Regions from separate parts of the Homo sapiens genome. Here all the other regions are linked to region 4. Evidence: promoter capture Hi-C in 16 types of primary human blood cells and fetal thymus (Javierre and others, 2016). All regions are on one chromosome and are shown on one strand. The core of a region is centred on a gene start or on the middle of the fragment in contact, and the rest is flanking DNA. Distances in the headings are between cores, read along the strand shown. Region 1 holds the start of HAUS8 (HAUS augmin like complex subunit 8). Region 2 holds the start of USE1 (unconventional SNARE in the ER 1). Region 3 holds the start of NR2F6 (nuclear receptor subfamily 2 group F member 6). Region 4 overlaps NWD1 (NACHT and WD repeat domain containing 1).

Region 1 (6,410 bases), core at 3,798-6,297, 300 kb before region 4:
GGAAATTTGGACACAGAGACAGGCACAGAGGGAGGACGATGTGAAGACCCAGGGGAAGACGGCTATGTATGAGCCAACAGAGAGAGGCGTGGAACAGATTCTCACAGCCCTCCGAAGGCACGAACCCTGCCAACACCTTGATCTTGAATGTGATCTTAAACGTCTGGCCTCTAGAACTGCAAGCCAATATACTTCTGTCGTTCTGGCCACCCAGCGTGCGGTTCTGTTACAGCAGCCCTAGCAAACTCAGGCACCCAGCAACAACAGTCATGAAACACCCCTAGCGGGGCTCCTTCTCTTGCACATACAGCCCTGTGCAGCAGGGCAGAGATGGGTTTTAAACAAGTGAGTCAGACAAGGATATCTTATTCATCACTCCGACGAACCCATGGGCTGAACCCTTGAATCACTACTTTATTTATCATCGGGCTCGGGCTCAGAAAGTCTCGCTGAGGAAATGAGTAGAACCCAAACTCGTCAGCTGCATTTCTGAAACATGCCTAATCTCTGAGGCTCTTTCCCAGCCACGATAGAAATTGAAAGGGAACGGGGCTCTGGGCTGCGGCGGTGGGCTGGTGTGGAGACAGAGCCCTTTGTTCTGCCACTCCAGGGACCACGAGGGCAGAAGAGAAGGGCTTGTCTTGCTTTGCCGAGAGGCCGCCTGGGGCCGTCTGAATGGCCGGCCGAGCAGGGGCAGCCTGGCACAGCTGGGCTGGGGATGCCGGGCACACAAAGGGCTGGTGGGTGGGGTGTGGGGGCAGCACCCAGAAGGGACCGTCAGTCCCGTGGCCCCAGAGCGTCTCCTCCAATCAAGGTAAAGCAGCAAAGTCACGGTCAAGGAGGGGGCCAAGCAGGGAAGGGGACAGCAAGATGGACCAAGAACAAAAATTCAGCAGTATGTGCTTGGGAACGGGCGGGCGAAAGGGCCCATGGAAGAGATAATGCAGCTTACAAAAGCGACGTTTATCCGGGGCAACCTCCAAAGTAGCTCTTGGGAGAGAATCTAATACCTCTAATCTCAGAAGAAAAGCAACAGATCATTCTAAGACGAGGACAGTTCCTCCAGAAATCCAGGTCAGTCACAAGACAAAGAAAAGACAAGGGCACCCGCTGTCCACCCTCGGGCACGTTGCCTACCCTCCCACAGTCCGTTCCTAACGGTTCCTCCTTTTTATCAAGACCCGCTCCCTCCTGATTAAGAACTGACTGGATGGCAGGATTCAGTTCCTGGTCTCTGCCCCTGTTCCCACTCTTAGTGGCAGTTCCTCAGGGGCTCCACAAACACCAAGGACCCACCAAGGCAATGATGGGCCCTAGAGGGGAACCAGGTTTTACTAATGAGCATCACATTTCACCTGGCGGGGGAGGTGATTCTGCCCCCAGGGGACACGTGGCCATGGCTGGAGTCATTTTCAGTTGTTACCCCTTGGAGGGGATGGAATACTACTGGCATCTCATGGGTGACAGCCAGGGACACTATTCCACATTCTACAGTGCACAGCCCCAACTGTCAATGGTGATGCGGGTGAGAAACGGCCCTGGAGATTTGGGTTTCCCCAGTTAAAGGTTACTAAGGATCCTGCATGTTTCTAGAAAGCTCAAGGAACCATCTCTGAAGTCATCACCTGCCTGGGCCTGTTTCTGTATCAGGAAGATAAGAACAAGGACCCTCGCACTGCCGGTTGGCAGAATGAGAGAGCTGGGATGCCCTGTACAGGCCGGGCTTCAAAGGTATCTGCTTGTGCAATCCCTTCCACCCGGAGTGGTTTAACACGTGGTATCTTTCCAGGTTTGACCTGGGGCCAGCCACTACTTCCGAGGAAACTTGCTGGAATCCCCCTTGTCCTAAAGCTTGCATTGGTTGTCCCTAATTCTCCCCCCATAATATCTTGTGGCCCCTCTGTCACCGTACTGATGACCTGATCTGAATTCCATTCTTTTTTTTAATTATTATTATTTTTGAGGGCATCTTGCTCTGTCACCCAGACTGGAGTGCAATGGCGCAATCTTGGCTGGCTGCAAACTCCGCCTCCTGGGTTCAAGCAATTCTCCTGTCTCAGCCTCCAGAGTAGCTGGGACTACAGGCGCACATCACCACGCCGGGCTAATTTTTGTATTTTTAGTGGAGACAGGGTTTCTCCATATTGGTCAGGCTGGTCTTGAACTCCTGACCTTGTGATCCACCCACCTTGGCCTCCCAAAGGGATTACAGGCCTGAGCCACCGCGGCCCAGCTTGAACTCCATTCTTTCTGAAGAGGAAGTGCAAAGTTGTCGGGGGCGGGCATTAGCGTGTCCGTCCTCTGGGTCATAAGGATTCACCTCTGTCCCCAGGAATCTACCAAGTGTCTGGCACAATCAACCCTTGCCTAACTGAAATCTAGGCCCACCCAAGACACACCATTTGGAAGAGATGAGGAATGGGAAGCAGCAAGTTAACAAGTCCATGTGGGGAGAGAATAACGAATCCTACAGCCAAACAGAAAGGGGAGATTCCCACGTCTCTACCTGCTCCACTGAGTCACCAGACTGGACCCGAGGGACGGTACTGCCTCGGGATTTCCAGAAATTTGCAGTTTCCAAAGCTTTGGGAATAGGTGCAATGTGCAAAAGCACCTTCAACACCGCAATTTTCTATTTGGACGATGAAGAAGCGGTTGAAAAAAAATCATTTTTGGATACAAACTGTCGAATGGAAAACGGAATAAAAGTAGGATCATCGCAGCCAGGAATGGAGAGTGGGGGTGCTGTGAGGAGTTCAAGGCCGGGAGCTGGGGGACATGGACTGGAGACAAGACGGTGATGAGAAGAGTTGGGTTTCAAGGTTGAAAAACGCTGATGGAGGTCAATTCATTCATTTTGCAGGTGAGAGGTCAGAAACAGGCACAGAGACTTGACCAAAGCCAGGATCTCCAACACAGTGCTCCCCCCACAAGACCCTGCTTGGCCATTCTCTAGCGGCAGGGAAGAGGCGATTGCAGGGCTGCGGGATCAGAAGATCCCGGTCCTGTTCTGTAGGCCAGTGCAAGCCTACAGTTCAATGTTTGCAGGAGGCATGACTGTGGGCTGTCACTGCATGTCCTGGGGCAAGCCAGGCCAAAGCCACCTTTCCTAAAGGCCAGGATATTCTGGAAGTGAAGGGGGTGCTTATCTTTCTGTGGCCCTCTTTATATTCCAGCTATCCGGGTTCATCTCCTGAATGAGCTATAAACTAAACATAAGCTGGGGTTCCCCAGCCCTTCTGGCAGATCCCAGATAAAGATCCCTACAGTTGGGAAAGGGGAGAAATGAATGCCAATCAAAAGCACCCTGCACAAAGTCCCTGCCAGGGCCACAAGAGCCAGGCCTGTCAGATGTGAATAACTTTCCTGTAGCCCAGGTCACCTCCGGCTGCTCCTGGACACCTTAAGATTCTGAAGACTCCAACATCAAAAAACAAACCGAGTTGGGACTCTCTGGCTGGAAAGTGTCCCCACGGGCTCCCACCTCAGACAAAGAGGCAGAGAAGCCATCCCTTAAAGACCCCTGGCCTCCAGGGTGCCCAGGAAAGAAAGGAGGGCTCGTGGCTGTCGTGCCTCTCCAGGGCTGAGCTCAGAGCAACCGGGGGACAGATTTCCTGTATGTCGTTTTACCCATTTAAGTCCAAGGATGCAGCTCTGCGGAGGTGGCGACAGTCCTGTACATGAGGGTGCATGCACACTCCCTCCTGAAACACAGTTCCGGCCCCACAACCGGCCCTGAGGTCCCTTCCTTGGATCCAGGGAATCCCAGAATCCTGCTAGTCCTGTCTTAAGGGGAGGGTGGTGAAGTTTCCAAGACGAGGACACTGGCACAGAGGGTGTTGGGACTCGTCCCAGGTCACCCAGCTGTTAAGTGTGAAGTCAGGAGGGACACGAATCAAGAGGGGAGGGTGGGGGGACGGAATCTCCAGGGGCTGCATCTCAACATCTATCTGCACGGGGCCACTCTAACCCCTTCCTTCTCTTCCCTCCTCTCCGGGCCCTCCCTCCCTAAGCCTACCCTCAGTTCTTACCGTGACTTCTACTCCGTTTACTTCCCTTCCAGCTCCCATTTCCCCGCTTCCCAATAGCCGGCTGCCGCATCAGTTAGTTCAGAACCCCCCGCATTTACTGAGCGCCCACTGGGGGCCAGGCGCCGCCCTCTTCTCAGACACCCTTCCTTCAATCGCGCGGGCAGACGTCCCCAGATCGGTCTCGCACCCCTTCCCCTCAACCGCACCCCGGCTGTCCCGCCCCTGGCCTTGCCCACTCCCCCAGCCTGGGCCTCTCGTTCCCGCCTCCGTGCCTCCCCACAACGCCGTTTCCTGCGACCCCCCAATTACCACTTAAGCCACGTCCTCTTCAGAGAAGCTGCTCAAAGCCACAAGACTCACCCCCCCCACGCCCTCGAACTCCCTCACCAGCTCCATCCCCATCCACTTTCTCCTTCACCGTCTCGCTTCCACCTCATCCCCAGCAATCTCTCCAAGACCCCCAGGCTCGTTCCCGCCCCCTCGACCCCTGCCGTCGCGTCCCCCATCAGCCCTCAGCTCCGTCCCTCTTCTGCGCAGCCCCCAAAGGCAGGCTTCGAGCTCGAGTCGCCAACCCGAGGCTGCCTGGTACTCACCTGGCCTCGGCCGCCGCGCGCCGCCGGTCCCGGGCCGGGTCCCCGGCCGGACGACCGCCTGCCAGCCCGCCGCTGCTCGAGCCGCTCCGCCCCGCCGCGCCCGCCGCTCCCCCGCGCGCTCCCGCTTCCGGGTTCCGGAGAGGCGGGGACGGGGGCGTGACGCCAGCGCTCCTAGGGGCGGGGCATCGCGAAAAGCCCCGCCCCTACTGTCCGACAGATCAGGTCCCACCCACCGCCCCTACCCACTACCGCCGATGGTGGGCGAGACCAAGTGCGAGGGGAGGACAGGCGAAGCGCGCGTCTGGGGCCGCGCTCTCCACACTTAGCCGGCGCTGCCTCACGCCTCGCAGCCACCCCTCCTGCGTCTCCACAAATGGTCCGACCCGCAAGCAAGGGGGCGGGTCCGGCTTTGAAAAGCCGGCGGGTCGGGCCTTGAGGTGGAAGGCGGGAAAATGGCGGATTCCTCGGGGCGAGGCGCTGGGTGAGTTGGGGCTTCCGCAGGTCTGGATTTGTAGACGCCATAGGGCTGGAGAGGATGGGCAGCGGAGGTGGGGAGTTAGGACCCTCGGGGTGAGTTCGGGTTCGACCCCGCCAGGAACTGCGCGGGCCCCTGAAGACCCCGATGGCGTGCTGCCTCTGCGCATGCTCCGGAGCGCTGACACCCGACCGGCCCTGAGTTCCGCGTCCTCGGCTGGGACGCTGGGCGACCTCCGGCAAGCGGCCTGACCGCCCAGTGCCTCGCTTTCCTCCGCTACGAAATGGGGCCGATGACGCAGCTCAACCTCGTAGGCGTCGCGTGAGGCTGAAACGCGCTTAGATCGGCGCCTGGGTCTTTACTGTGATGTCGCTCTTGGAATTATCGTTATGCAGTGAACAAGTGTTGGGCGACCAAAGTGTCCCCTTTAATCCTCCCACGCGCTTTATTCTGTGCTCCCAGTTTACTGAGGAGATGATGGAGACCCAGGGAGGGGAAGTGACTTGCCTAGGGTAACACACCATGAACAAGAAAGAAGTTGAATACTGACCGAGAGCTAGGCATGAATGATCATGAGGCTATATTTGTCTAGTTTTGTTAATTCTGCCAGTGTTGATTGTGCCAGGTGCAAACTGAAGTGAAATTGGCCAGCAAGAGGAATCACTCCACCGCCCCTTGCCGTAACCGATAGATTGACAGTAGCACCTCCCAGGTACAGGTGCAGTAGCTGAGGCTCGCACAGGTTGTAGGGACCCCCCTCAGGTCGCAGCAGGTTCACCCAGGAGCCCATTCGGTTTGAGGCCACAGCCCTAGCACAGTCCCCAGAGGGAGTCTGTGCTCTTGTCTCTTTCTGGCTGTGAGACTGCCCCGGGGGTGACCTATGTAAAACCTGTGCGTCTTTGTTTTGCAGCGACGAAAAAGCAGGTGTGAACAGTTAGGAAGCTGTCGGGTTAGGAGGAGCCTACGGGCGAGCGCAGCTGCTGGCACCTGGCGAACATTTGCTAAGTTGCCTCTCCCCACGGTGGCCTGGAAGTGTCCCCAACATTGTCTGGGTCTCACTTTGGGGTCCTGGGAGCCTGCTTCAGAGGAGGTGGCCGCAGGGACCAGTGGAGCCGCCTTTGGTGATGGGAGCAGGAGTTACAGTGCCCTGGCCTTGGCCCTGCCCCTCCACTTGCCCATCCACTTGCCCCTCCTGTGTTGCTGGTGTCTGTTCTTGGATCCCTTCTTTTCTCACCAGCTCAGGCTGAAACCCTGAAACCCCTAGTCATCCCAGATTCTCCCTCTCCTGCACCCCCACAGCTGATGAGTCAG
Region 2 (6,438 bases), core at 1,197-3,696, 440 kb before region 4:
GTAGCTGGGACTACAGACACGTGGCACTGCATCCGGCTAAGTTTTGTATTTTTAGTAGAGACATGGTTTTGTCATGTTGGCCAGGTTGGTCTCAAACTCCTGACCTCAGGTGATCCACCTGCCTCAGCCTCCGAAATTACAGGTGTGAGCCACTGTGCCTAGCTTTGTTTCCTCTCGGGGCCATTTCCTCTGTCCTGGCTCTTCCTCCAGGTGTAGTTTGGTGATGCTCCTGTTGGAGTCAGGGCATGGAGTCTCGGCATGGAGGCCCCGGGGCAGCAAGGATACATGTCTTGTCCTAGTCAGCTGGCCCTCAAGTCCTGTTGTGTTCATGGTGACTCACCTGCAGAGTCCTGTGGAAAGAAGTAAGTGGCATGAGGCTGGGTGCAGTGGCTCACTCCCAGCACTTTGGGAGGCCAAGGTGGGCAGATCACCTGAGGTCAGAAGTTCGAGACCAGCCTGGCCAACATAATGAAATTCCATCTCTACTAAAAATACAAAAAGTTAGCCAGGTGTGGTGGGGGTGCCTGTGATCCTAGTGACTTGGGAGGCTGAGGCAGGAGTATTGCTTGAACCTGGGAGGCGGAGGTTGCAGTGAGCCGAGATCGCGCCACCACACTCTAGCCTGGGCAACAAGAGCGAATCTCCATCGCAAAAAAAAAAAAAAAAGTAAATGCCATGAAGTCACCCCCCTTGTCTTGTTCCCAAACCTGTCCCTTCTGACCTCAACCTCCTCACCTTCAGTCAGGACATGGGGAAATCCCATGACCTCTGAGCCTGTTTCCTCAACCTTAAACTGGTAACGACAACTCATATTTTTTTTTTTTGAGACGGAGTTTCACTCTTATTGCCCAGGCTGGAGTGCAATGGCTTGATCTCAGCTCACCGCAACCTCTGCCTCCTGGGTTCAAGCGATTCTCCTGCCTCAGCCTCCCGAGTAGCTGGGATTACAGGCGTGAGCCACCATGCCCAGCTAATTTTGTATTTTTACTAAAGACGGGGTTTCTCCATGTTGGTCAGGCTGGTCTTAACTCCTGACCTCAAATGATCCGCCCGCCTCGGCCTCCCAAAGTGCTGGGATTACAGGCGTGAGCTGCCGCACCTGGCCACAACAACTCATATTTTAAAAGATTGAGCTGATCCACATAAAGTGCTCAGAAAGGAACTTGTCATCCTCTTTTACGGCTGAAGAAACTTATGTGTCTTGTAAGTTGCAAGCCAGGACTCAAACCCTGCTCTTGGGCCAACTCTGGGGCTTAACCAGACACATTCCATTTTTGCCTTGTACCAAATTCCTATTCATCTAGCAAAGCCTTAGCCACAATGCCCCTCTGTTGGGCAGCCTTGTGTGATGACCCAGGGAAGAGATTGCTGGACCCCCTTAGGGTTCCTGTATCTGACAGTATTGTGGTTCTGGCTGCCTACAAGCATAGAACCCCTATTCCTGTCCAAGGGATTCCCAGGGACCAGGGAAGGAGCCCTACCGTGCCTAGTAGCTCACTCCGCATCTCGCTGGTGTACCGCGCCCGTGACTGCAGATGCACCGTCTTTGTGGCGGGCACTCGCTCTCTGGCTGTGGTTGGCACACGGCCAGGGGCCAGGAACTGGTTGGCCAGTGCTTTCTCTGAGGAGGAGGTCTGCAGAAATGTGGGAAGATAAGTCACTGGAGGGGCAGGTCCTGGGGACCAAAGTGAGCGGTGATGGGGGCTGAGGGGGCAGGGGCACCCCTTCTCACCAGCTTCTCGGCTTGCAGCATCCCCTTCAGAAAATCCACCTTCCAGGAATATTCATTGATCACCTCAGAGGCCGGTTTGCTGGAAGGCAGGAAGAAGAAAAACAAAACCTGTCCATGGTCCCCAGCTCAGGGAAGGGTCCCAGCTGGGATAGCGGTACTGGGATGTCCAGTAGCACAGCCACGTGCTGATGTGAAAGCCCTGAGGCTGCCTGCACTCACCTCGCGTGGACCTTCAGGGCCTGCAACATGTCCTCTAGGGCTCCCACGTACTGGGGAGGAAAAGTGGATTGTCACCCGGGGGTCTTTCCCATGTCCTGATCATGGGAGTCGGGGGGGCGGGGCCGACAAATGGGAGGGGTCAAGCGTAAAGGAGGCGGGGCCAGTGGGGGAGGGGCGGAGTCCCAGGGACGGGGGCGGAAGCTACAGGTGGACGTGGCGGGACTGACCGGAAAGGGCGCTGCCCGAGAGGCTACTGGGGCCGGGGAGTCGGGCCAGGTGGCTTCCAACCCTAGGAATCACCCCCCGGGAGTCGGGCTCTACGCGGCAGTGCGAGATCCCCTCACCTTCTCCAGGCGCCACTCGTCCGGGTCCCGTTTCTCCGCTGCCATCGCCTCGCAGCGGGATAGCAGCCGCACCAGGTTTAGCTCCAGCCTCGACGCCGCCATTATCGCCCGGCCCTACACCACCCCTTCCGCCGGCTCCATGTTAAGAGAGGGCGGAAGTGCCTTCAAGTGGCCTTCCGGGCGGATGTTTCCCCCGCGCTCGTTAGCTGGCCCATCTTTGTTTGGAGCGGAAGTAATATCTTGTTTTGAGACGGGGCGCTGGGCCGGGCGCGGTGGCTCAGGGCTGTAATGCCAGCATTTTAGGAGGCAGAGGTGGGAAAGGATTGCTTGAGGCCAGCCCGGGCAAGATAGCGCTACTCTATCTCTATTTTAAAAAAATAGGAGAGGCGCCACCCCATTCTTACTTAGGCGAATCACTTGCTTTTCCTCGAGAGCATGTTAACCCTTCGGGAATGATAGGACGACCGGGGTCTTCTGGTGTCAGACCCGCGTGCAGTGTGCCCTTTTGTTCTGTTTTGCCTGCTCAAAGTACCTCCCCGCACCCCACTCCTACCTGGATTCTTCCCAGTCGGAGCTATTTCACGTCCACACACCCTTCCCGATTTCTGTAGCCTGGGATTCAGGAATCCAAGGCTTCCCCCACCTCAGCAGGGCTCATCTGTATTGTGGTTATGGGTTTCCAGGTCACAGCTCCAGCTCTGATTCCATCCTCGGCCCTGGGAGAGTTTAACTTTTCTGGATCCGCTTCTTCCCCCGGGAAATGGACAGTGTGACAGTACCTGCCTCAAGGGGCACATGAGACAGCTCTGCCTGAGAGTGAGCAAGGTGGGGCTGGGTCCCCCCTAACGCCCAGACCCCCATGGAGAACCCCTTCCCAGCCCACCTCAGTACCTGGAAGCTGAGTACCCCTATGCCTTGCAGTGCCTCTCTTCTGGAGTGACAGGATGAGGGTGGGGGCTTCACAGGAACCAGGGCCTGGCATGCAGCCTTCATGTTTTCCCACACCTTAGGTCATCTGCACCTTGGTTACACCAGTGGGCCTGATGTCCTTGAAAAATATCATAGACGGGTAGGTGCGGTGGCTCACACCTGTAATCCCAGCACTTAGGGAGGCTGAGGCAGATGGATCACCTGAGGTCAGGAGTTTGAGACCAGCCTGGCCAACATGGTGAAACCCCGTCTCTACTAAAAATACAAAAATTAGCCGGGCGTGATGGTGGGTGCCTGTAATCCCAGCTACTTGGGAGACTGAGGCAGGAGAATCGCTTGAACCCAGGAGGTGGATGTTGCAGTGAGCCGAGATTGTGCCACTGCACTCCAGCTTGGGCAACAAAGCAAGACTCCGTCTCAAAAAAAAAAAAAAAAAAAGAAAATACCATGGAGGGCCAGGTGCGGTGGCTCACGCCTGTAATCCCAGCACTTTGGGAGGGTGAGGTGGATGGATCACTGGAGGTCAGGAGTTTGGAGAGCAGCCTGGCCAACATGGTGAAACCCTGTCTCTATCAAAAAACACAAAAATTAGCTGGGCTTGGTTGTGCGTGCCTGTAATCCCAGCTACTCGGGAGGCTGAGGCAGGAGAATCGCTTGAACCCGAGAGGTGGAGGCTGCAGTGGGCCGAGATCGCGCCACTGCACTCCAGCCTGGGTGACAGAGCGAGACCGTGTTTCAAGAAAAAAACCCACAACAAACAATGGAGACCAAACCCAGGGCCCATCAAAGGGGCCTCTAGAGGCTGGCAGGGCAGAGTCTAAATCCCAGCCATGCCCCTCCCAACTGTGTGGCCTTGGAGAAGCCCCTCAACCTCTGGCATGTGCTGTCTGAACTTGGGTTCTTCACGGTGCCCCAACCAATACCAGCCAGCCAGTTCCCACGACTCCCATCCGATGGCAGCCTGGGAGCCCATCTGTTCCTGTCCTGCTGGGCCCACCAGGAACTGGCCACCTCTGCTGGATGGGTGGCTGCTGCAGCTGACATTTAGGCTCCAGAGGCTGGGCACTGAATCAGGGAGGCCAGAGAGGGCTGCCAGGACAGCAGGCGCTCCTGGCCAAGTGAGGCTCTGCTGGGAGCTCCCTGTTTGGTGGAGGATCAAGACAGAACTTTGAGGACAGTGTTCCACCCATATTCTGCACCCTTCTTGGCTGAGGCCACAGGGCAGACCCCCACCCACCGGCCCTGTTCTTCCAAGCCCGATCCCATATGAGCAGGCGTCCCATGCACACACTTCTCAGGCACTTTTTATTTCATGCTGTGCGGGGGCCCCTTGTCCCAGATTTGTGGCCACGTGTCCAGGTGTCTGGGGGAGTGGGCCAAGCCTGAGAGAGGAGGGCCCTGCTCCAGAGATCCCCAGGTTGTCCCTGTTGACCTATAGGGAGGTCTGACTTCAGGCGTTGCCCTCCTGACCCGTGAGCAGTCCTGAGTCGCTGGCTCCTATTCTGTCACACGGGGTGGGTAGTGCCAAAAGCAGCCTCCTGCAGCCCTTGGCGTCCGGAAGAGTGACAGCCACATTCAAGTCTCCCTGGCACGTGAGGTCCATGGTGCCCCTGACTCATGTCCTGGCTCCAGCCAATAGCCCAGACCCCCATGGAAGGTTCCAGCATGTGCAAAAATGCACATTGGCCAGGTGGCTGCCCCCCGGAGACATGTGTCAGAGAGGCACGGGTCAGGTGACCCAAGTGTCCAAAACTCTCATGGAGGGTCCCAGCCCATTGGCCACCCCAAGCCAACCACAGCAGGGTCTGAGCCTCAGACGCGCAGTGGCCTAGTGGCTTCTGCTCTGACAGCTCACGTCCAGGTTATAAGGGAGACGGGCAGCGTTAATAGAAAACTTTGTACATACACATATAAAAAACCATTTGGTCTTCCATTAAGGCTGTTACAGTTTAAAGTTACGTAAACCACGTACAAAGAAACAGTTAAACGTACAAAAAGGGGAGTGGGGAGATGTGAGGCCGCAGGTGGAGATGTGGTGCTCCCCACAGGTGCGTCCATGATTTGGGGGCTGCGTGCGAGGGGGCCTGGCTCCAGCCGGCCTCTCCCTGCCTTGACTCTGCACTTGGGGCCGGTGCCCACCTCACGTCACTCTTGAGCTTTTGATTCTGGATCCTTCTCTGAGGGCCGAACACTAGCTCTGCAGCTCTGGCGCCCAGCTCCAGTGCAGGGGCCGTCCTCGGACATGCAGACTTTGTCAGCTGTGGCTCTCAGCCATTGGTCTGGCCCGAGGCGGGGGGCAGGCAGTACGTTGGGGGATCCGAGTACCTCCGCTTGGCCCCAGGTGGCTGGCCATCCTCTTCTAGGGGCTCCAGGGCGCCCTGCACTGGCAGGTCTGCCCCGGGCGTGATGTACACGGAATGTATCTGGTCCGGGCGGCGGGCAGGTGGCTCCCGGCGCCGCACTGGGGCAGCCGCCTCCCGGGCACCCGGTGCCCAGCGAGGCAGGTGGGAGGGCAGGCCTGGTGGGAGCTTGATGTTGGCCGTGGGCATGATGGGGGTCCGCCGGGGGGTCTTCACTCTGACCGTTACGAAGGACGACGGCCTTCGTCGTGGAGGGGCGGCCACGGTGGGGAGGGGGCTCGGGGTGGGCGCGCCGGGGCAAGGGAGAGCAGGCGCAGGGGGCCCTTTTGAGAGACAGATGGCAGGGTTACTGCAGCTTCAGGGCCGGCAGCCGGAGGACCCTCGCCCTGGGGCCTGCTGGGATGGACGGGAAGGAGAAAAGCAGACGCTACCTTAATACTGACCTTCCGAGGCCCCCCGCCCGGCCCGCTCCTCCAGCAGGCTCTCGGTGCTGGCCGACGTCTCCGAGTCCAGGTTCTCCTCGTCCGAGCCCCTTGGGTCCAGCTCCGGCAGCCGGTAGGTGATGTCCTCCCTGGAGGAAAAAGGGTAGTGGTGTCCAAGGCCACCCCACCGGAAGTGCTGGGCCAGTGTGGAACAGAGCAGGCTGTCCTGCTCCTAGATGTAACTCTGTGTCCCCAACCTCCCCCCACCCCAAGCAGGAGGATTGCTTGAGCCCAGGAGTTTGAACCCAGCCTGGGCAACATAGGCGGACCCTGTTCTGCAAAAAGTAAAAAAAATTAGCCAGGCGTGGTGGTGTGCACCACCTGTGGTTCCGGCTACTGGGGAGGCTGAGGTGGGAGGACCCCGTGAGCCT
Region 3 (6,323 bases), core at 331-2,830, 470 kb before region 4:
CCCTCATCCCAAATTACCAGTCACATTCCCATGCAGCCTCAGAACCAAAGGGTCGTCTCTGCCCACCCACGCCTTCCTCTCTCCCAGCAGGGATTACATCAGGCTGTGGGCAGAACCCGACTCTAGACCTCGGGAAGTCCTTGCTCATGTCTAATCCTAGTCCTTCCTGCTTTTCGTGTTTACTAACGCCTCCTCCTCCACCTCCCAGGCAGCCAGAACGTCCCTGGAGCAGGTTGAGAGGCCCAGGGCTGGGTGTGCCTGGCTCTCCCAGAACCTCAGTTTCTTTTTAAGTGTTGTAAGATCTCTAAGAATCTTTCCCCCTACTCCAGGGAGGGCAATTCTTCAAGTCTCATCAGGGCTCTGGGAGGCAGAGGAGGGGGTGCGCAGAAGGCACTGTCCTGGCCAGAGCTCTCAGAGGCCCAGCTGCATGCTCTGGTGTCCAGCTCTGGGCTCAGGGCGGGGTGGGACCACAGTCTGGGTGGCTGGGGCTGCAAGACTCCGAGGTGAAAGGTCACTCCTGGAAGGGCTTGTCCAGCCGGTTAAAGGTTAACCTGCCCAGAGCCAGAGGCTCGCCAGCCCGGGCCTCGCATACAAAGGGTGCTTAATAAATGCTGGTCGGGCGGGCCCCAGCCCCGGTACTGGGGGATGGGGTGAGTTGGAGGTGGCGGCAGCTGCGAGGCTCCAGGGCGCCTGGAAGAGACATCTGCAGTCCAGCCGGCCGCCAGGCCAAGCCCTTTCTGCAAAGCACAGAAAGAAAAGGAAATTAAAAGGGAAAAAGGGGCAGGCCCCCAGACAGGGCATGCCTGTCGCCTCCAGCCGCGCGGGGCGGGTGGGCGCCCTGCCCCCGGAGGCCAGAAATTCTGCAGAGGGGCCCCCTGACCTCGCGGCCCCGGCCAGCCGGTCTCAGACCACAACATCCCTTCCCCCTGGAGATTCCGGGCACCAGGTGTTAACCCGAGCAGAGAAAGGGTGGGGTGGGGGTCAGACGCGGCGACTTTCTGGAAGAGGAAGCAAACACAATCTAGGGTGTGTGTGTGTGTGTGTGTGTGTGTGTGTGTGTGTGTGTCTGTCTGTCTCGCGCGCGCGTGTGTCTTGCGCAGGGGCGTACCCCCCCCCCGGGTGCCACTGGCCCCCCATCATTGCTTTGCCAGGAACTGTGGGGTGGGGAGAGGTTCCGAGGGGCGCCTCGAGGGTGATCGAGCGACCCAACGTCCAAGGCCAGAGGTGGAGGGGAGGGCCTTGGAGAGACATCTTGGCGAGGCTCAAGGAAGGGCAGAGGGCAGGCGCGGCTGAGGCTCCCGCCGCGGCCCGGCAGGGGTTAAGGCCCGAGCTGGGCGAGGGCGAGGGCGGGGGTGCGGGGGGAGGGGCAGAGGGAGGCGGGGGAGGGTCAGGCCCCGCGGCCCAGCGCTCGGCCCCCGTCCCTCCCGCCGGCCCGTTCGCCCGGCGCCGCGCGCGGCCACCCATGCCCTTATAAGGGCGGCCGTCGCCGGGGCAACGAGCGCCCGCCCCCAGCCCGCGGCGCGCGCCCCTGCCCCCGCCCCCGCCCCCCGCCCGCCCCGCGAATGGAACGCTGTGTGTCAAACCGGCCGCAGCGCGAGGCCGGCGCGCGGGGTCGGTGGCGGTGGCGGCGGCGAGAGCGAGGCTTGGGCCCAGGCGCAGGCCCAGGCCAGGCAGGAGCGGCCGCAGCGGGGGCGGCAGCTCCAGAGGCGCCGGCCCAGCGGCCCTGCAGGCCCGGAGCGGCAGCCGCGGGCGCCGGGGGACCCAGGGGGCGCGGCGATCAGCCCCGGCGCGCACCCGCCGCCCCTCCCCCCCCGCCACGGGCGGCCGCGCAACTTGCGGCCAAACTTTCCCCCCGGCCTCCCGCGCTCGGATGGCGGCCCGCTGAGTTGGCCGCAGCCCCCGGGCGAGCGGCGGCCAGGCCAGAGGACGCCCCCTGCGCGGCTCGGGCCGGGCCATGGCCCGCGCGCCCCCGCCGGGGCCCCAGGGCGGCGGGACGCGAGTCCTCTGGGCCCCCGGCCCGCGCCTCTAGCGTGCCCCTCCCGGCCCCGGGCCCGGCCCCGCGCACGCGTGGGAAAGTTGGCCTGGAACCGGCCCGACCAGTTCCGCCCGGGCGCGAGGACCGGCCGCAGGAAGTTGCTGCAAAACTTTTTTGGGGGGTGCAGCCCGTGCCCCCCGCGCGCCGGGGCCGAATGCGCGCCGCGTAGGGTCCCCCGGGCCGAGAGGGGTGCCCGGAGGGAAGAGCGCGGTGGGGGCGCCCCGGCCCCGCTGCCCTGGGGCTATGGCCATGGTGACCGGCGGCTGGGGCGGCCCCGGCGGCGACACGAACGGCGTGGACAAGGCGGGCGGCTACCCGCGCGCGGCCGAGGACGACTCGGCCTCGCCCCCCGGTGCCGCCAGCGACGCCGAGCCGGGCGACGAGGAGCGGCCGGGGCTGCAGGTGGACTGCGTGGTGTGCGGGGACAAGTCGAGCGGCAAGCATTACGGTGTCTTCACCTGCGAGGGCTGCAAGAGCTTTTTCAAGCGAAGCATCCGCCGCAACCTCAGCTACACCTGCCGGTGAGCCCCCCATCCGCGCGCCGCCGCCGTGCACCCCGCCCCGACCTGGGGCAGGCCTCTGACCTGCTCGGTCACCTTGGGCCTGGCGCTGACCTTCCCTGGGCCTCCACTGCCCCCTCTGAGATAGGGGCACAGCACCCTCCTCCCGCATTCCATGGCTGGGATTGTGTATACAGTCGGCGCTACATCGTTGCAGGTTCCCCCCCCATCAGGTGGTCCCTGGAGGCTTTTGCCCCAGTTACTTGCTTCTCCTTCCCTCCGCTTTTTCTCTGGGGAGGGGTCATCTCCGCGCTGGGGTGGGGGTAGGGGTGCTGTCAGGGGTGGTAACCCAACCCCAGGGCACCCGTTCTCGGGGATCCCGGCGCGCGGGATGCCCTCGAGGGAATCGAACGTGGAACTTGGACCGTGGAGCTCGCAGCGTCCAGGGGCCATTGTCTGCGGCCGCGCGGATCGATACGGCGCGCCCTTGGGGTCAAATATCACTTCCAAAGTCGCTGTGGCTACGGAGGCGGCAGACGGAGGGAGGCTGGGGTGGCACGGGGCGGCCTTCTTCGCATGAGGGGCCCAGCGGTGGGGGTGGGGGTGGGAGCTGGGCTTGCCCATCTCAGGGAACCCCTCTGGGCTCACTCTGGGCCTTGGGTCACCGGAAATCGCCACTGGAAGGCCGGCAGGGCCACCGGAATTGACTGAAACGTCCCTCTCCCCCAGGGGTGGGTGCAGACCTGGGGCTCCTGGAAAAATCCCTCAAACTTTGGGTGTCTCTGAGACGGGCAGGGAGTGAAACGTTTCCGAGCAGGAGCCTTGGGCTGTCCCAGGTCGGAGACCTCTCTGGCAGGGCGTGGCCTTGCTAGCTGTTCTGGCGGAAGGTCCCCAGGGAAAGCGATCGGGGTTGTCCAGCCCGGGAGTTCTTTTCTCACCGTTCCCGGGCGAGCATCCGATCTGTCCGTTTATAAGCCCCTACTCTGCACCCCAGGAACATGCAGGGTCTCTGTGGAGCCCGTCTAGACGGTCTCAGTTCCCAGCTGCCCAAAACAGAGGCCCAAAGGCCCAGAGAGAGGTCCTGGTGCCTGCTTTGCGTTGGACATGGAGGGACGCTGCCCGAGTTGGGGGCACTGTGGGGGAACTGTGGGGCTAGGGTGGGGACCGCTGAGTTCGGATCGGAGTGGCCCCAGGGAGAACGGCTGATGGAAGGCTTGTTGGCTGAGGCCACCAAATAGGGCCCCAGGTACCCGAGGGTGGAGTTTGGCCCCAGGTCCCGGGTCAGGGCTGGCCTGGTGTGGCCATGTGTGGCAGAGCTGCCTTGCTCCCTCCTCCAGCACAAAGTGGGCCACTAGACTTTGGCCTCATTCTTGCTGCTGGAAAACCGCCTGCTCTCTGGTCATATCTTTAGGGAGGGTAAGGGAGGGGGGCTCAGGCAGTTTTGGGGTCCCAGGAGCTTCCTGAGGGTGGTGTCAGGGAGCAGCAATTTTGGGTGGGGGGGGCCTTGCTTGGAGCTGACAGGTTTGTGCTGTGTCAGTTGTGTGACCTGGTGAAATCACCATTCCATTCTGAGCTTCAAATGGATTGAGCAGGGTCTCGCTGGGGCCCAGCCTGGGTAGTTTGATGCCAGCCCCTCCAGAGAGACCCCAGCTCCAAGTCTAGCTCCTGAGAAGCCCCCAGTCTGGAGGAGACACAGTGAGACAGATGCCCCAAGTCTGTGGGATCTGGGGTCCCAGGGAGAGAGCAGAGGCTCTGCCTGGAGGTCAGAGAGGGCTGCCTGGAGGAGGCTAGGGGACATGAGCCTTGAAGCATGGAGTTGGCAGGTGGAAGAAAGGCCACAGGGACATGCCAGAATGTGGTCCAGACAAAACACTTAGTGGCAGACTGGGGGAGCTGTGCTGTAAGAGGGGGACTGTGCAGCCATGGGAGAAGTCAGAGCTAGGTGGGCCTGAAATGCTGGCTGAGGGTAATGGGGAGCCATAGAGGGTGTGTGAGCAGGAGAGGGCTCTGATCAAATTGGACTGGAGGCCAGAAGCCCAGGGAGGAAGCTGAGTTGGGCCATGGGGTTGGGCAAAAAAGCTTGCACTCTTTAGGTGGGATAACAGGAAGAACTTAACTGTTTCCCTCCTTGGAGGGATGGATCTGTCCCAATTCCACAGCTGGGGAAGTTGAGACTGAAGGTTCAGGGCCTCCCCTGAGGTCAGGGGCCCCTGAGCTGGGCCTCTGCCTGCCTGCAGGGCCGCCCCAGGCCAGGCCGTTTCCACCCGGCTGCCCTGGACCCTCCCACCACCCAGCCGCTGGGCTTTGTTCTGGTTCTGCCTGAGCTCCCTCTGCCCTAGTGGGGCCTCTTCCCAGGGGCTCAGTGGCTGGTGCTGCAGGACCCAGGCAGTGGTGGAGGGGGGGTACGGGGGAGTGGGCGCAGATCCTCAGCTTTCCTAAGTTGGGTTCTCCGGCTGGGCTCTGGGTCTTGGCACTGTCCCCCGTGAACCCCTCTGACCCAGTCCATCCCATATGATAGGGCAATATCTGACCTCCCATTTTCAGATGAGGAAACCGAGGCTCAGTGGGGCAGTCGCCACCTGAGGGGCAGGGCTGGGTATCTGCAGCTGAGATTCATCTGTTTTGTTTTGTTTTGTTTTGTTTTTGAGACGGAGTTTCACTCTTGTTGCCCAGGCTGGAGTGCGATGGCGTGATCTCAACTCACTGCAACCTCTGCCTCCCGGGTTCAAGCGGTTCTCCTGCCTCAGCCTCCCAAATAGCTGGGATTACAGGCATGCGCCACCATGCCCGGCTAATTTTGTATTTTTAGTAGAGACAGGTTTTCTCTATGTTGTTCAGGCTGGTCTCAAACTCCCAACCTCAGGTGATCCGCCCGCCTCGGCCTCCCAAAGTGCTGGGATTACAGGCATGAGCCACTGCACCCAGCCTTTTTTTTTTTCTTTTTTTTTGAGACAGAGTCTCACTCTGTCACCCTGGCTGGAATGCAGTGGGTCAATCTTGGCTCACTGCAACCTCCACCTCCCCAGTTCAAGCGATTCTCCTTCCTCAGCCTGCCAAGTAGCTGGGATTACAGGCATGCGCCACCACGCCCAGCTCATTTTTGTATTTTTAGTAGAGACGGGGTTTCACCATGTTGGCCAGGCTGGTCTTGAACTGACCTCAGGTGATCCACCCTCCCCCGCCTCCCAAAGTGCTGGGATTACAGGCGTGAGCCACTGCAGAGATGCATCTGTTTAATTCCCTTAAGTGGTGGTTCTACTCTGTGACTGTCTCTGTGTGTCCCCTGGGTGTCCAGCTGGAACCCCAGGGGTAGTTGCTCCAGGCCCAGGCCTTGGAGAGCCCCCAGCTCCTGGTGGCAAGAGACCAGGGGAGTCCAAGGGCAGGGGCCAAGGGGAGAAGGTTCTGGGGACATTTGAAGAATAAGGCCTGGACCTTCCTGCTTGGGGGCTGACCCAGGATGGGGAGCTCACCACCTCTCAGGGTGGGGCCACCTGTCTCATCCCTGCAAGAGGCAACGGCATTCACTGAGGGCTGACCAGGAAAATCTCCAGCTTGCATAGGGGTTGGGTGGTCCTCTCGGAAGAGCGTAGGTGTGGGGCCTTCAGGGCTGAGGACCAGAGTGACTTTGTTTACTTCCTCATTCCTTGGGGTGGGCATTGTGCGGGTGATAATGCTGGGGCCCCACAATGCTATGACCCCACAGACCACTAGCCCCTGGCCTGACCCCTAGTTAATTCACAAAGTCCAGCTCTCTGACCATGTCCTCTTTGCCTTCACATCTTTTTGGG
Region 4 (6,566 bases), core at 3,325-5,824:
CCCTGCCCCAGAGATGAGAAAAATGTCACGCTAAGCTGTAACTTCCTATGCCTGTGCCATGACAGACATCATTAATCAATCACAGCACTATGTGCGATTTGTGCCCCCATAGTCATTCTATCATCTCACCTTTAGTAATAAAACCCAAAAGCCTACAGGTTTTAGCTGAGTACATAGTTATCCGCACAAAGACCACATTTCCCTGGCTGAGCACAGTGGCTCAACCCTGTAATCCCAGCACTTTGGGAGGCCAAGGTAGGCGATCACCTGAGGTCAGGAGTTTGAGACCAGCCTGGCCAACATGGTGAAACCCTGTCTCTACCAAGAATACAAAAATTAGCCAGGCATGGTGGCATGTGCCTGTAATCCCAGCTACTTGGGAGGCTGAGGCAGGAAAATGGCTTGAATCTGGGAAGCAGAGGTGCAGTGAGCCGAGATTGCGCCACTGCACTCCAGCCTGGGCGACAAGAACAAAACTCCATATAAAAAGTAAAAATAAAAATAAAAATATAAAAACATATTTCCCAGGCTTCCTTACAGTTGGAGATATCCAAGTTCTTGCCAATGAGACAGGAGTGGAAATATTTAGTTCTGCTTCCAGGTCGTGCCCTTAAAATGAAGAGGCCTGCCATCTGCTTCTCCTATTCCCCACTGGCTGGAATGCCATCTTGATGGTAGGAGTTGGAGCAGCTATATTGGGCCAACGAGGACAGCCCTACACTGAAAATGGCAGAGCGCCAGACTGAAAGAGTATGGGTCCCAGACACCCTAAAGACTCCCTCTTGCCTCTGCTTTTGCTTGAACTATTTCAAAAGAGAGAATTAAACTCCTATCTTATTTAAGCCACTGATATTTTGGCCATTTTTTTTTACAACATCTGAGCCTATATTCTAACAAATACACACTCTTTCCCACTAAGCTAGCTTCAGTCTTAGAATCCTCAACACAGCATTCTAGTGGCTGCCCCTAAATCAACTCCTCCATGCATTGTACTTAGTGTCTCTTAGCATTTCTATTTTGAAAATAATGTGCCTGGGGAGTGCAGCTCTCACTGCCAGGTCATGTGGCACAGTAAGGAGCTCTGACATTTGAACCACAAGTGAACTCAGTGGTCTCACAATCAGTGTGAGAGATTGTGGGTGGGCAGATAAATAGATGGGTGAATGGAGGTAAATGAGTGGGTAGACAGGTGGCTAGTTGGATGAGTGAGTGGGTGAATGGATGGGCAGGTAGATGGGTAGATGGAGGAATCAGTTTCTCGATGAAATTGAAGTGAGAAAGTTGATGAATGGCTAAGTGTGTGGATGGGTGGAGGCGTAAGTGAATGAATGGAAGATGATCAGATGAAGAAAATGGAAGGATAAGTGGGTAGAGGGGTGGATGACTGATGGGTGGATAGAAGAGAGGAAGGAAGGAAGAAAGAAAGGGTTGAAGGATGAATGAATGGATGAATGGATGGGTGAGTGGATGGATGGAAGGAAAGGTGTGTAGGTGGGTGAGTGGATGGAAGGGTGGGTGGATGGACGGATGAAAGGATGGGAAGGTGATTTGATGAATGGATGGATGGATAGATTAATGAAAAGGTGAGTAAATGATTTGATGAATCGATGAATAACGGATGGGTGGATGGATGAATGGGGCTAGATAAATGAAACAGTGGTAGGGTAGATGGATAGATGGATGGATGGGTGGATGGGTGGATGGATGGAACAGTGGAACAGTAGATGAATGAAAGAGTGGGAGGGTAGATGGATTTAGAGATGGGGGATAGATGGATGGAAAGGTAGCAGGGTGGGTAGATGGATGGGTGGATGGGTGGGAGGATGGATGGATGGATGGATGGAGAGGAAAGTGGTTTGATAGATGAATTGATGGATAAATGGAAGGGTGGGTAGATGATTGGATGAATGGACAACTGATGTATGAATGGGTGGGTGGATGAGTGAATGGATGGATAGATGGATGGAAGGGTGGGAGGATAGATGGATGGGAGAGTGGGAAGGTGGATGGATGGATGGATGGATGGGGCAGTAGATGGATGGAAGGGTGGCAGAGAAGATGGGTGGATGAATGGATGGGTGGGTGGGAGGACGGTGGATGGATGGATGGATAGATGAATGGAAGGGTGGGAGTGTAGATAGATGGATGAATGGATGGGAGGGTAATTGGATGGAAGAGTAGGAAGGTGAATTAATGGATGGATGGATGGATGGATGGATGGATGGATGGATAGATGGATGGATGAATGGATGGGTGGGTGGGAGGCTGGTGGATGGATGGATAGATGAATGGAAGGGTGGGAGGTAGATAGAGAGATGAATGAATGGATGGGAGGGTAATTGGATGGAAGAGTAGGAAGGTGAATGAAAGGATGGATGCATAGATGGTTGGATGAATGGAAGGAAGAAAAAAATGAATGACAAATGGATGGCAAAACCTAAATCCTCTCCTCTCCCTTACATTCTGGGATTCCAAGGGCTGCTTACAGTTCCTTCAGCTTCTCAGAGGACTGTCAGGCATCAGTTCCTAGCTTTCAGAATTACTAGCATGAGCTTGTAAATAGCTGAAACTGTCAGATGGGCACCAATCCCTTGGAGATGGGAAGCTTGGAGGCACCCCCTAGCATCGGGCTCATTAGAAGAATTTATATGAGACATCTACAGTCCCTTGAGGTGGGGCAGAGAGAGCTGATTCAGCATGAGACAGCAGGGGCAGGCTCTGATGGCAAGCTTGGGGCCTCCCAACTAGCACAGGGGAGTCCCAGAGGACAACCTCAAACACCTGGCCTTCACTGCCCCCAGGCAAGCAGGTGCCTGCTGGGATTTTTGCTATGCTGGGGAGACTCACCTTTGTGACAGCCGCTGAGAGTTGCCCGGAGGGGTCCTCCCGGGGGCTGGAGGAATCCTCCGAGGGGCACCAGCACAGGGTGTGCGCACAACTGGAACCAGCTCTGGGCCTGTTGGCATAGCTGTCCCACCAGTGCTGGATGTGAGGTGGCGAAGAAATGGAGTCTGGCCAGCAGTTCTGTGTACAGGAGGCTCCTCTCTGCAACAAAGGGATGTAGACTAAGTTGCCTGGATTGAGCCCCCTCTACCCTCCCTGCCAATTGAGTCTCTGCTCCCTGCAGGGGCTCCAGAACAAAAGAAGACACAATACCTCAGCTACTGGCCTCTGCTGTCCGCTCCTGTCTCCTTCTCTGCTCTCCAGACACACTTACCCTTGCTTCAGAGGCACCCAGCTGTTTCCAGTCTCCAGCCTTTGCCCAGGTTGCCTAGAATGCTTCCCTTTCCTTCCTCCCTCCCTTCTTCTCTCCCTCTCTCCCTTCCTTTCTTCCTTCCTCTTTTATCACACTCTGTTGTCCCGGCTGGAGTGCAGTGGCATGATCAAAGCTAACTGCAGCCTCAAACTTCTGGGCTCAAGCAATCCTCCCATCTCAGCCTCCCAAATACTAGGGACTACAGGCATGCGCCACCACACTCAGCTAATTTATTTGTTTGTTTTATTTTATTTTATTTATTTATTTTTGAGATGGAATTTTAGCCTGTCACCTAGGTTGGAGTGCAATGGTGCGATCTTGGCTCACTGCAACCTGCACCTCCCAGGTTCAAGCGATTCTCCTGCCTCAGCCTCCCTAATAGCTGGGACTACAGGTGCCCGCCACCAGGCCCAACTAATTTTTGTGTGTCTAGTGGAAACGGGGTTTCACCATGTTGGCTGGGCTGACCTCAAGTGATCCACCTGCCTCGGCCTCCTAAAGTGCTGGGATTACAGGCATGAGCCACCGCGCCTGGCTATTTATTTTTTTAGAGACAGGGTCTTACTCTGTCACCCAGGCTGGAGTGCAGTGGCACGATCGCAGCTCACTGCAGCCTCAAACTCCTGGGCTCAAGCGATCTTCCGGCCACAGCCTCTATATTAGCTGGGACTGCAGATGCACGTCACCACGCCTCGTTAGTTTTTTATTTTTTGTAGAGACGGGGTCTCGTTATGTTGCCCAGGCTGGTCTCAAACTTCTGGGCTCAAGATATCCTCCTTCCTCGACCCCTCAAAGCTCTGGAATTATAGGCGTGAGCCACTGTGCTCAGACTCAACCTTTTCAATAAAAGTAGGATCAGAGGAGGGATATATTGGAAATCTTTGTACCTTTCACTCAATTTTGCTGTGAACCTAAAACCGTTCTATTAAAAAATGGGCTATTAAGAAAAATTAGCCGAGCATGGTGGCGCGCAGGCCTGTAATCCCAGCTACTCGGGAGGCTGAGACAGGAGAATCGCTGGAACCCAGGAGGCAGAAGTTGGGTGACAGAGCGAGGCTCCTTCTCAAAAAAAAAAAAAAAAAAGGACTCGTGATCGCGTTGGATCATTTAGGATGTTATGTTGAATGGTCCCCATTCGCCAGCGTGCTTGGATGTACGGAGAGCACATGGTTGTCCAGCAGCGCCCTCTGGTGATAACATTTGTTCCTACACCTCCTCCTTGTGCTGGGGGAGCCACAGGTTGTCAATCAAGGGGCTTTGCAGGGAACTTGCTGAGAGATCTGGGCTTTTAAATCTTCCTTAAAATGGGAAGTCATGCCCAAGGCTGTTTTCCTGGGAAGTTGCTCCATCAAGGTTTACAACTCCTGGCGAGCGCCTCTCGCGTTATTTTTCTTTCCAGTTGCCTTAAATTCCAGTTGTTTGGTATGCTGTTCCATCTCCTTCTCTTTATTTATTTGTGTATTTTGAGACAGAGTCTTGCTCTGTCGTGCAAGTTGGAGTGCGGTGGCGTGATCTCGGCTCACCGCAACATCTGCCTCCCGGGTTCAAGCAATTTTCGTGCCTCAGCCTCCCAAGAAGCTGGGATTACAGGCATGCACCACCACACCCGGCTAATTTTTGTATTTTTAGTAGAGATGGGGTTTCACTGTCACCAAGGCTGGTCTCAAACTCCTGGCCTCAAGCAATCTGCCTGCCTCGGCTTCTCAAAGTATTGGGGTTACAGGCGTGAGCCACTGTGCCCAGCCATCTATCTATTTTTAACTAATTAATTTTTTTTTACAGAGATAGGGTCTCGCTATGTTGCCCAGGATGGTCTTGAACTCCTGCCCTCTAGCAATCCTTCTGTCTGGGCCTCCCAAAGTGCTGGGATTAGAAGCGTGAACCCCCGCACTCGGCCCCATCTCCCTCTCTTAAAGGCTGAGACAAACATTAACTATATTTAGGTCCCTGTGGGAGCTGGGGCTATGGCAGATAATCAGTAGGGGTTGTGTGAATGCATAAGAAAGGCATAAATGATTGCAGGCACCAGCATCTTCACATTGGGTGGAGTTCTGGACACATTTTAGTTCAATTGCACATTTTGCAGATGACAAAAATAGGGTTTCAGGGCAGAAATAGCTCATCCTAGGCTATTCATGTCAACAATGCTATCATATGACAGTAACAGGACCCTCGATGGCAACACGGGTGGAGGTTCTGTGTGAACTGATGCGCGTACTCTTCCCAGCAGCCCTAGGTGGGATGGTCACTCAGCATCCCTATTCTGCAGATGGGAAAACTGAGGGCTGTGGGGCAGGGGGAGGGATGGTAAAGGGTTTGCAAGGTCACACTGCCAAGAAGTGGCAGCGCCAAGATTTCAATGGACACGGTGGGGCTCAAAATTTGTGGTCTCTGTGTGTATTTGTCTGTTCTCATGCTGCTAATAAAGACATACCTGAAACTGGGTAATTTATAAAGGAAAGAGGTTTAATTGACCTACAGTTCTGCAGGGCTGGGGAGGCCTCAGGAAACTTACAATCACGGTGGAAGGGGAAGCAAACACGCCCTTCTTCACAAGGCGGGAGGAGAGAGAAGAATGAGAGCTGAGCAAAGGGGGAAGCCCCTTATTTTAAAAAGCCCCATCAGATCTCTTGAGAGCTTACTCAGTATCAGGAGAACAGCATGGAGGAAAACACCTCCATGATTCGATTATCTCCACCTGGTCCCTCCCTCAATGTGTGGGGATTATGGGAAATACAATTCAAGATGATAGCTGGGTGGGGACACAGCCAAACCATATCAATGTGTTAAAGGTAAAAATTTGGCAGGGAGAAAACAGATGATGCCATTGGCCTTATGGAGCTCAGAGTCTGATGTGGCAGACAGATGATGCAAAAGAAAACCAAGAGAAATCATAATTAAAGGCAAAGACAAGCCAGGGGTGGTGGTGTGCACCTGTGGTCCCAGCTACTTGGGAGGCTGAGGTGAGAGGACCACTGGAGCCCAGGAGTTTGAAGGTGCTGTGCGCTATGATCATGCCATTGCACTCCAGCCTGGACAACAGGGCAAGACTTTGTCTCTAAAAAAAGAAAAAAGAAAAAGAGCCAAGACAGATGGAAAACAGGGTGCAGTGATAGAAAATTCAGAGGCAAGGATCGGGGAGACATAGAGAAGTTAAGCTTCAGTGGTGGCCAGACAAGGCTTCTCTGAGGAATCGCATTTAGCTGAGCTCCAAAGTTGCCACAGAAGGGCTGGGGGAGGCGAGTCCCAGCCCAGGGCCCCCGGCACGCAAGCTTGGATGTTTCCATCACTGTCTGGGGCAGTAAGGATG

Evidence for each region. The method cuts DNA at HindIII sites, captures the fragments that hold promoters and counts their contacts. A CHiCAGO score of 5 or more calls a contact.
Region 1: the fragment with the promoter of HAUS8 here is called in contact with a fragment that was not itself captured in region 4 in 14 of 17 cell types (endothelial precursors, M0 macrophages, M1 macrophages and 11 more); the score reaches 12.7 in endothelial precursors.
Region 2: the fragment with the promoter of USE1 here is called in contact with a fragment that was not itself captured in region 4 in 1 of 17 cell types (neutrophils); the score reaches 6.7 in neutrophils.
Region 3: a contact is called between the fragment with the promoter of NR2F6 here and a fragment that was not itself captured in region 4, in 1 of 17 cell types (total CD8 T cells). The highest score is 5.3, in total CD8 T cells.

Annotation. Positions count from the first base shown.
Region 1 is chr19:17,074,089-17,080,498 of GRCh38, reverse strand. It overlaps HAUS8 (HAUS augmin like complex subunit 8), which reads left to right and starts at 5,047. Exons shown (of 11, transcript NM_033417.2): 1 at 5,047-5,105. The coding sequence starts at 5,077. MYO9B (myosin IXB) reads right to left here and starts at 4,722. Exons shown (of 40, transcript NM_004145.4): 1 at 4,625-4,722. RefSeq lists enhancers at 203-740, 5,105-5,304 and silencers at 753-852, 4,286-4,580, 4,575-4,924. The HindIII fragment of the contact is 21,850 bases long and covers 2,586-6,410 here.
Region 2 is chr19:17,211,365-17,217,802 of GRCh38, reverse strand. USE1 (unconventional SNARE in the ER 1) reads right to left here and starts at 2,446. Exons shown (of 8, transcript NM_018467.4): 1 at 2,296-2,446; 2 at 1,952-2,001; 3 at 1,733-1,811; 4 at 1,482-1,634; 5 at 341-350. The coding sequence starts at 2,397. MYO9B (myosin IXB) reads right to left here. Exons shown (of 40, transcript NM_004145.4): 39 at 6,029-6,156; 40 at 4,517-5,908. The coding sequence ends at 5,493. RefSeq lists a silencer at 2,053-2,122 and enhancers at 2,143-2,462, 2,226-2,806. The HindIII fragment of the contact is 55,559 bases long and covers 1-6,438 here.
Region 3 is chr19:17,241,176-17,247,498 of GRCh38, reverse strand. It overlaps NR2F6 (nuclear receptor subfamily 2 group F member 6), which reads left to right and starts at 1,580. Exons shown (of 4, transcript NM_005234.4): 1 at 1,580-2,556. The coding sequence starts at 2,279. RefSeq lists silencers at 860-939, 1,340-1,589, 1,990-2,149, 2,160-2,229 and an enhancer at 647-1,596. The HindIII fragment of the contact is 5,800 bases long and covers 1-4,616 here.
Region 4 is chr19:16,769,605-16,776,170 of GRCh38, reverse strand. It overlaps NWD1 (NACHT and WD repeat domain containing 1), which reads right to left. Exons shown (of 19, transcript NM_001007525.5): 11 at 2,848-3,045. Among named protein-coding and RNA genes, the nearest start is that of NWD1, 53 kb to the right of the region's middle. The HindIII fragment of the contact is 3,685 bases long and covers 2,732-6,416 here.